Linked DNA regions of Homo sapiens: all the other regions are linked to region 3. The links are contacts of gene promoters, found by promoter capture Hi-C in blood cells and fetal thymus (Javierre and others, 2016). All regions are on one chromosome and are shown on one strand. Each heading gives the region's core, a stretch centred on a gene start or on the middle of the fragment in contact. The rest is flanking DNA. Distances are from core to core; before and after follow the strand shown.

Evidence for each region. Contacts are between HindIII fragments. The CHiCAGO score rates a contact against its expected background, and 5 or more counts as called.
Region 1: a fragment that was not itself captured here is called in contact with the fragment with the promoter of HTR6 in region 3 in 7 of 17 cell types (megakaryocytes, naive CD4 T cells, naive CD8 T cells and 4 more); the score reaches 8.4 in megakaryocytes.
Region 2: a contact is called between a fragment that was not itself captured here and the fragment with the promoter of HTR6 in region 3, in 4 of 17 cell types (naive CD4 T cells, non-activated CD4 T cells, total CD8 T cells and 1 more). The highest score is 6.5, in naive CD4 T cells.

What each region holds. Positions count from the first base shown.
Region 1 is chr1:19,485,444-19,488,204 of GRCh38, forward strand. CAPZB (capping actin protein of muscle Z-line subunit beta) reads right to left here and starts at 96. Exons shown (of 9, transcript NM_004930.5): 1 at 1-96. It also overlaps a transcript of LOC105376819 not described here. RefSeq lists a silencer at 1-672 and an enhancer at 1,932-2,439. The HindIII fragment of the contact is 175 bases long and covers 1,289-1,463 here.
Region 2 is chr1:19,419,852-19,422,666 of GRCh38, forward strand. The region is part of intron 1 of CAPZB (capping actin protein of muscle Z-line subunit beta); the gene reads right to left. Among named protein-coding and RNA genes, the nearest start is that of CAPZB, 64 kb to the right of the region's middle. RefSeq lists an enhancer at 1-93. The HindIII fragment of the contact is 3,875 bases long and covers 1-2,815 here.
Region 3 is chr1:19,663,527-19,666,428 of GRCh38, forward strand. HTR6 (5-hydroxytryptamine receptor 6) reads left to right here and starts at 1,349. Exons shown (of 3, transcript NM_000871.3): 1 at 1,349-2,902. The coding sequence starts at 2,228. RefSeq lists a silencer at 1,163-1,392 and enhancers at 1,171-2,143, 2,144-2,902. The HindIII fragment of the contact is 8,359 bases long and covers 1-2,902 here.

The sequences.
Region 1 (2,761 bases), core at 126-2,625, 180 kb before region 3:
CGGCGGCGGCGGCGGTCCCGGTCCCGGCGTCAGTGGCTCTCCCCCCCGCAGCAGGGCCCGGCGCTTCCACTTCCCCGGGTGCCCAGGAGTGAACATCCGGGTCAGCACCCCCCTCCCCCCGCGCCGGGCCGCCGCCACCTTCCTTCCCCGCCCCGGCCCGGCCCGGGCCCGCCCCCCACGCCGCCAGCTCGCGGCCAATGAGCGCGCGGGGCTGCGGCGATCGCCAAGTATGGAGAGCGGCGCGAGAGGCGGGCGCCGACGGGGTGCGGGGGCGGGGCCTGCGAGGCGGGGCGGGGCGCGGCGCTGCGCGGCGCGGCTGCCGGGAGTCCCCGGCACGGGTTGCGGGCCGGGGCGGAAAGGTCTCCTGGCTGTCTGAGGTCCAGTCCCCGACTCTGGGCCTGCAGCAGCGAGTGGCGGCGAGGGAACCGCACCCCACAGTCCCCGCGGGCGGGGATGCGGAAGGCACCGCGGCTGGGAGGGGACCGGCCCTCCGCGCCCCACCCCGTGCACGCGCTCACTCCTGCGGCGCACCCGGAACTGCCGCCGAGCGCGGACCGGCCCGGCCCAGCCCAACCCAGCCCAACCCAGCACTGGGGGAGCGCGCCGGGAGCGGGGCAGGAGCCCAGCGCTGCCGCTCGCTACGGCAGGATCTGGAGCGCCGCGCTGCACCTGAGCCCGGGCACGAATTGAGGAGCCTCGGGCTGACGCCATTTATTCAGCACCTACTATGTGCCAGGCCTTGTTTAGGCACCGGAAGATAACAGATAAGACATAAAGATCCCTGCCGGTATAGCTGCAGACAGAATATCTGTGAGGATGACACAGGTAGAGATTAGAAAATTAAGTTCAACAGGTCGGCCGCGGTGGCTCACGCCTGTAATCCCAGCACTTTGGAAGGCCGAGGCGGGCCAAGGTCAAGAGATCGAGACCATCCTGGCCAACATGGTGAAACCCCGTTTCTACTAAAAATACAAAAATTAGCTGGGCGTGGTGGTTCGCTCCTATAGTCCCAGCTACTCGGGAGGCTGAGGCAGGAGAATCGTTTGAACCCGGGGGCAGAGGTTGCAGTGAGCCAAGATCGCGCCACTGCACCCCAGCCTGGCGACAGAGCAAGACTCTGTCTCAAAAGAAAAAAAATTAAGTTCAACAAATGCTAGCTGTTATGAGTACTGTTGAATGTGCTACAGAGAACCATTCCATTAGCCCAGAAGGGCTTCCTCGCTCCACAAAGTGACTCAAGTTTCTCTCTCCCAATCTCTCTCTCTCTCTCTCAATCAAATATTTGTTAAGCTTAGTCTAGGTAGCAGGAGAGATCTGGATTGCTAACAATATCTGCCTCCGTGGCCTGTTTGCTTTGGTTAAATCAAATTAGGCGATCTGTGAGGGGATGGTAAACTGCACAGATGACAGGAATTGTTTCCCTGAGCCAGGCCCTGTCCTCAGGGAGCTCATAGACAAGTCGAAGCTTTCACAGGTAGCCACTGGCAGAAAAAGCATACGGGTAAGTCTCGCAAGAATGGTATTGGATGAGTATTACAGAAATTCAAGGAAGAGAATGGCACACGCAGTAGATACTTATTGAGCATCTGCTATGTGCCAAGCACTGTGCTAGGCTCTGGAAATAGAGCAATGAGCAAAATAACCCACATGGTTGTGGAGCTTGAGTGTTGTCAGGGAGACAGTCGGCCACCAGGCAAATACAGTGTCCAAGGCCAGGCACAGTGGCTCACGCCTGTAATCTCAGCACTTTGGGAGGCCGAGGTGGGCAATCGCTTGAAGTCAGGAGTTCCAGATCAGCCTGGCTAACATGGCGAAACCCCGTCTACTAAAAATACACAAAGTTAGCCGAGGCCGGGCGCAGTGGCTCACGCCTGTAATCCTAGCACTTTGGGAGGCCGAGGTGGGCGGATCACGGGGTCAGGAGATCGAGACCATCTTGGCTAACACGGTGAAACTCCGTCTCTACTAAAAATAAAAAAATTAGCTGGGCGGGATGACGGGCGCCTGTAGTCCCAGCTACTCGGGAGGCTGAGGCAGGAGAATGGCGTGAACCCGGGAGGCGGAGCTTGCAGTGAGCCGAGATCGCGCCACTGCACTCCAGCCTGGGCGACAGAGAGAGACTTCGTCTCAAAAATAAAATAGTAATAATAATAATACAGTGTCGGGTAGTGATTAGAGATAATGAGAAAAATTCAAGCAAACAGGTAGGCAGGCAAGGCCTAACTTAGCAATATTTGATCATATAGCTGAAGGGAAGGAGGGAGCAAGCCGTGTGGATAGCAGAGGCACAAGGAGCAGCAAGGGTAAAAACCCTGAAGGTGACAGTGCTGCATCAGCACTGGTGTGTTTTCAAGGGCCAGACAGGAGGCCAGTGTGGCTAGCCTAGGTCGAGCAGGAGCTGAAGGACAGGGCAATGACAAGATTTGACCTAGGCTTTAAAAGGATCATGAGGCTGCTGTGTTCTGAATGGACTGTAGGGGGACTAGGGCCTTAGAAAGCCATTTCTATATTGAGGACATTTATTTATTTAAAAAGCACTGATATGGCACATCCTATGTGATGAACACTGTTAAGCACCTTACAGATAATAAGCCATTTAATCCTCATGACAGAAGCCTGAAAAGGTAAGGAGCTTGCCCAAGGTCACACAGCAGAGAGATGAAGCTGGCTTAGACCAGGGTAGTAGCATTGGAGATGGCAAGAAGTAGATAGTATTCTAGGTATTTCCTGATGTATTGGTGGTAGGCATGAGAAGAAAGGA
Region 2 (2,815 bases), core at 216-2,715, 240 kb before region 3:
AGAGCCACGCAGTGGGCCCTCCGCCAGGTCTCTGTGTGCCAGCAGCCTGGAGCGGGGGGCGACTGTGCAGGCTGTTTGCTCCCCTTTGACAGCAGTCTCTGTCTCAAGTGGGGGCATCCAAAAGACCCTGAAAGAAGTGGAAGCAGGCTGGAGACGTCAGAAAGCTCCCTCACCGGCTCCCCTGCTCCTGCTCAACAGGCCCTGGTGGCTGCAGATGTCGTGCCCCCCAGTTGGTTCCATGGTGAACACACTCCAGTAGCGGATTACTTTTGCCCTTTGTTGTAACCTGGGTGTAAACATCAGGTAACATCCCCAGGCCAGGTTCCTTGAGAAGCTCCAAGGGAGGGAGAAAAGCCAGGCAAAGAACAAGTGGCAAGATGCACACGGGGTTAAAAGTGCTTCATTCATTCAATAGAAACTTAGGACACTAAGACCTGAACCACACTACAGTCAAGAGCTCACTCCACCCAGCAAACTGGACTGCAAATGCAGTAAACTATGTCACTGCAGAGGCAAGGACTGGAAAGACAACCATTACTCTTGTTTATCAAGCACTCTTTTAAAAAATGTTTTTCATTTTTTAAAGATAGGGTCTTGCTGTGTCACCCAGGCTGGAGTGTAGTGGCATGATCTTGGCTCCCTACAACCCCCACTTTCCAGGCTCAAGTGATCCTCCCACCTCAGCCTCCAAAGTAGCTGGGACCACAGGTGCATGCCACCACACCTGGCTAATTTTGTAGTTTTTTTTGGGGGGGAGGGGGGGAACATGGGGTTTTGCCATATTGCCCAGGGTGGTCTTGAACTCCTGGGCTCAAGCAGTCGAACTGCCTTGGCCTCCCAAAGTGCCGGGATTACAAGCATGAGCCATCGTGCCCAGCCCAAGCACCTTTTTAAAGCTATGCATCCTGTGCTTCACCATACTCTCCTCACAGTACATATGCTGCAAATATTTACTCAGAGCCACCATGTGCCAGTCACCATAAACATATAAAAAATAAATAAATAAAGGGAGGGGGAGAGGAAGGGAACAGAGCGGAGGCAAGGCTGGTAAAATGCAAAGTAAATTCAATGCACAGTGGGTTCTAACACAGAAGGCTAGACCTCAGGAGATGAGACAAGAAATAAAGTGAGAAAGGTGGGCCAGGTACAAGGGTGAAGACCTGTGTATGCAACTCTTAGAAGTACAGGTGACTCCAAGTAAGGCAGATGGAGTCCCCAACACTACCCAAGCAGCCACTATCTGATTTGTATCTGGAATCTGCTCTGCTCAGACCAATTTCAGGATTTTTGGAAGGCCTAAATCAACAAGCTACAGTCTCATAAAATACACAAAGTAATCCTCAAAATGCCACATTTGGCCTTAACGAAATATAACTTTTGAATATTACCGTTTACACTCCAGGTCTGTTAACCACAAGTAGGCCGTGGGGCAAGGACCCACTTCATAGTCACCAGAGACATAACACATTATTAAGGAGAGTCAATTTCATTTTTTTAAAAAAAGATATTGACATGGCATATACAGCCAGCTGTTTTAAAAAAGAATGAAAGAAAAGAAAAAGCCTGTCCCTTGCTCAAGATGGCTATCAGTGACAGTTCATCCTGGAACACACAACGAACTGGCTCCCCTGCAAAGAGAAAAGAAAAACACCACACCAGAAATTCTACCACTTGTTTTGCTGAATGCCAGCAACCATGAATTCCCTACTTGTGCCACGCATTTCTATGCCAACATGTGTCAGCCAAGGCCACAGTGATGGGTTTGGCCCACTGGCATGAGAGGAAATTTTAACACCACGTCTTGGGCAGAACACACAGATAAGCTGATTCGACTCTAGAGAGACATATTCAATTCCCAATACTGCCATTCATTAACTTATGGCCTTGGGTGGGTTTCTTAATCTCTAGAAGTCTCTATTTATTTATCCATAAAATGGGAACACAGTATCTTCCTTAGAGAGTGACAATAATTTAGTAATGCATGTGGAACATTTAATACACAGTAGTATGTGTTTAATGATTGGGGATATTGAGTGCATACAAATAAACATACAGCTTTTAAATCTTTTTAAAAATTTTAAATGATTCCCCTGCCCAACCTCCCCGCCCCTCAACCCAGCCCTGGATCTCTCTCTCTCTCTCTTGCTCCCCTTAAACTAGAGCTAATGTTCAAACTCAATACAAAGCTACGTATTCTCTTGGCCAAGCAAGAATAGAAAACCCTAAATGATTCAAGTCAAACTCGTTAAAAGGTATAAACTAGTATTTCTCAACTAGGGATGATTTTGCACACGTGCACACACATACACACACACCTCCAACAACCCTGCCAGGAGACATCTGGCAATGTATGGAGACATTTTTGTCACAACTGGGAGAGAAGAAACTACTGACATCTAATGGGTAGGGGCCAGGGATGCTTCTAAACATCCCAAAACGCGATACACAGCCTCCCCACAACAAAGAATCACCCGGCCCAAACGTTAATAGAGTTAAGGCTGAGAAGCCCTGGGCGAAAAATAATTGGTTTGGGGGCTGCAGATTCCCAGAATCTGATTGACAATAAAGTCCCCCTCAGGAAGACTGCACATGCAGGCAAACGTTTTATATATAATTCTAATTTAAAGACCACACATACACTTTGGGAGGCCAAGGCGGGCGGATCATGAGGTCAGGAGATTGAGACCATCCTGGCTAACGTGGTGAATCCCCGTCTCTACTAAAAATACAAAAAAATTAGCCGGGCGTGGTGGCGGGCGCCTGTAGTTCCAGCAACTCGGGAGGCTGAGGCAGGAGAATGGCATGAACCCGGGAG
Region 3 (2,902 bases), core at 99-2,598:
CTGGGGACAGCGCAGGAGCCTTCGATTTGGAAAGTATTATTTTTCTGTTTCTGTGGAGAAAAAATGATCCCACCCCGTTCTCTTTATACTACATTTTCTTTTTCTCTTTCTCTTCTTTCTTTCTCTTTCTTTCCTTTCTCTCTTTCTTTCTTTCCTTTTTTTTTTTTTTTTTTTTTTTTTTTTTGACAGAGTCTTGCTCTGTCACCCAGGCTGGAGTGTGCAGTGGCACAATCTTGGCTCACTGGAACCTCTGCCTCCCAGGTTCAAGCAATTCTCCTGCCTCAGCCTCCCGAATAGCTGGGATTACAGGCTCCCGCCACCACGCCCAGCTAATTTTTGTATTTTTGATAGAGACGGGGTTTTACCATGTTGGTCAGGCTGGTCTCGAACTCCTGACCTCAGGTGATCTGCCCACCTCCGCCTCCCAAAGTGCTGGGATTACAGGCGTGAGCCACCTCGCTGGGCCCACTTTCTCTGTTGATTATGCTTATTGTTTATTGTCTGTTTCTTCCACTAGAATGTAAGCTCCATGGAGGTGCGGATCTTTGTTTTGGCCACTGTAGTGTCCTGATGGGTCAGAACAGTGCCTGACATCTAGTGGATGCGCCTTAAAAGATGCATTGAAGTATCTGTTCAATGAATGAATGAATAACAGTATTAACCTGCACAGCAGTGTTAGGCAGAGACTCTTCTCAGCCAGAGGGGAGACGTACAGAGGGAGGTCACACCCAGGGGAAACCACACCCCACGCCTCTGCCTGCAGCGACTCTTAACACACCTGGCCTGGGGATTCTCAAATCTGTTCACGCTCTGTTAGACTAGGAGCGCCAACAGCTCAGGGACTTCATCCTTAGTACCTGGCCCCTTTGGGGATCGGGATGGTTTCTGCGGGAAAGGCCCTGGGGAAGGTTAGCTTCTTGCTCAAACTAACGGTGAAGAATGCCCAGAATTACTAACCCATTTTACAGATATGGCAACTGAGGCCCAGAGGGGTGTCAGGCGATTTGTCCAATATTTCCCAACTCCTGGCTCCCCTGAAAGCCCGGTGACCCCGTTGTGAGTGGGCAGGCACCCATTAGAGAGCAGCCCCTGGATAAGGGCAGGTCACAGCCCCCTGCTCCCAGTTCCGCCTGCGCCGCCGCCACGTGTGGGTTGGGAGGGGCATCTGAGGGTGTGGGGGCTGCCACAGCCCGGGAGGTGACCCCTCGCAGCTGGGGCGCTCTGATCTTCGGCCCACAGGCCCGGGGTGCCGGGACCCCGCCCTCCTGCAGGGCCAGGGCTCGGCTCTCCCCGCCCACCGCGAGGCGGGGCGCACGCTCCGCGGCGCGGGGACCGCGCGCTCCAGGCTGCACCCGGCCTCTCCTCCGCGCGTGCGGGCCCCTCGCGGCGCCTCCCGGGCTCGGGAGACCCGGTCCCGCCGCCCGCCCGGCCCGCGGCCGCCTCTTCCTCTCGCAGCCCCGCGGCGCTTGCCGCAGTCGCAGGCGGCGGAGCAGCCAGAGCGCCCCAGGTACCAGTGCGGGCGGGAGACGGAGGCGACCCTGCTGCCGGGTGGGGAGGGGGCGCCGCGCGGCCGCTGCCCTCCTCTTCCCGCGGGGCCTGGCGGCCCCGGCGAACCCCCGCGCCGCACAGGCCGTGTGCGCCGGATCCCGGTGCCTCCGCGCCAGCTGAGACCTGCCTTTCCCAGGGGCGGCTTTGCTCCGGCCCCTAGGCCCCCGCCCTGGTACCCCACACGCCCACCGGCCGCGGGGAGCCTGCTCCGGCCCGAGAGCGCCCATTCACCCCCCTCACCCACCTCCCCGCGTTCCCACTTCCCCGCACTCTGACCCGGCCGGACGCCCCTCCCCTATCTTGCCGCCCGCCCCCTCCAGGGGGCTCTGCTCCCACCCCAGGGAGCCCATCCGACCTCTGCTTGACTTCCCGCCGCTTCCTTCAGGGGCCTCGGCTCATCGGGTGCCCCTCCCCAAACTTCCAACCCGTTTGCTCCAGGAGTTCCTGCCCCATCCCCGAGGGCGCCCAAATAGCCACACTGTGTCCTCCTGTAGTCGCTGCCCCCTGACCTAGCGCGACCCAGCGCCCCCGCCCATGTCCCCCCACTCACCTCCCCCGGGGGGCGTGGTGAGTCGCGGTCTGTTCTCACGGACGGTCCCCGTCCAGCCTGCGCTTCGCCGGGGCCCTCATCTGCTTTCCCGCCACCCTATCACTCCCTTGCCGTCCACCCTCGGTCCTCATGGTCCCAGAGCCGGGCCCAACCGCCAATAGCACCCCGGCCTGGGGGGCAGGGCCGCCGTCGGCCCCGGGGGGCAGCGGCTGGGTGGCGGCCGCGCTGTGCGTGGTCATCGCGCTGACGGCGGCGGCCAACTCGCTGCTGATCGCGCTCATCTGCACTCAGCCCGCGCTGCGCAACACGTCCAACTTCTTCCTGGTGTCGCTCTTCACGTCTGACCTGATGGTGGGGCTGGTGGTGATGCCGCCGGCCATGCTGAACGCGCTGTACGGGCGCTGGGTGCTGGCGCGCGGCCTCTGCCTGCTCTGGACCGCCTTCGACGTGATGTGCTGCAGCGCCTCCATCCTCAACCTCTGCCTCATCAGCCTGGACCGCTACCTGCTCATCCTCTCGCCGCTGCGCTACAAGCTGCGCATGACGCCCCTGCGTGCCCTGGCCCTAGTCCTGGGCGCCTGGAGCCTCGCCGCTCTCGCCTCCTTCCTGCCCCTGCTGCTGGGCTGGCACGAGCTGGGCCACGCACGGCCACCCGTCCCTGGCCAGTGCCGCCTGCTGGCCAGCCTGCCTTTTGTCCTTGTGGCGTCGGGCCTCACCTTCTTCCTGCCCTCGGGTGCCATATGCTTCACCTACTGCAGGATCCTGCTAGCTGCCCGCAAGCAGGCCGTGCAGGTGGCCTCCCTC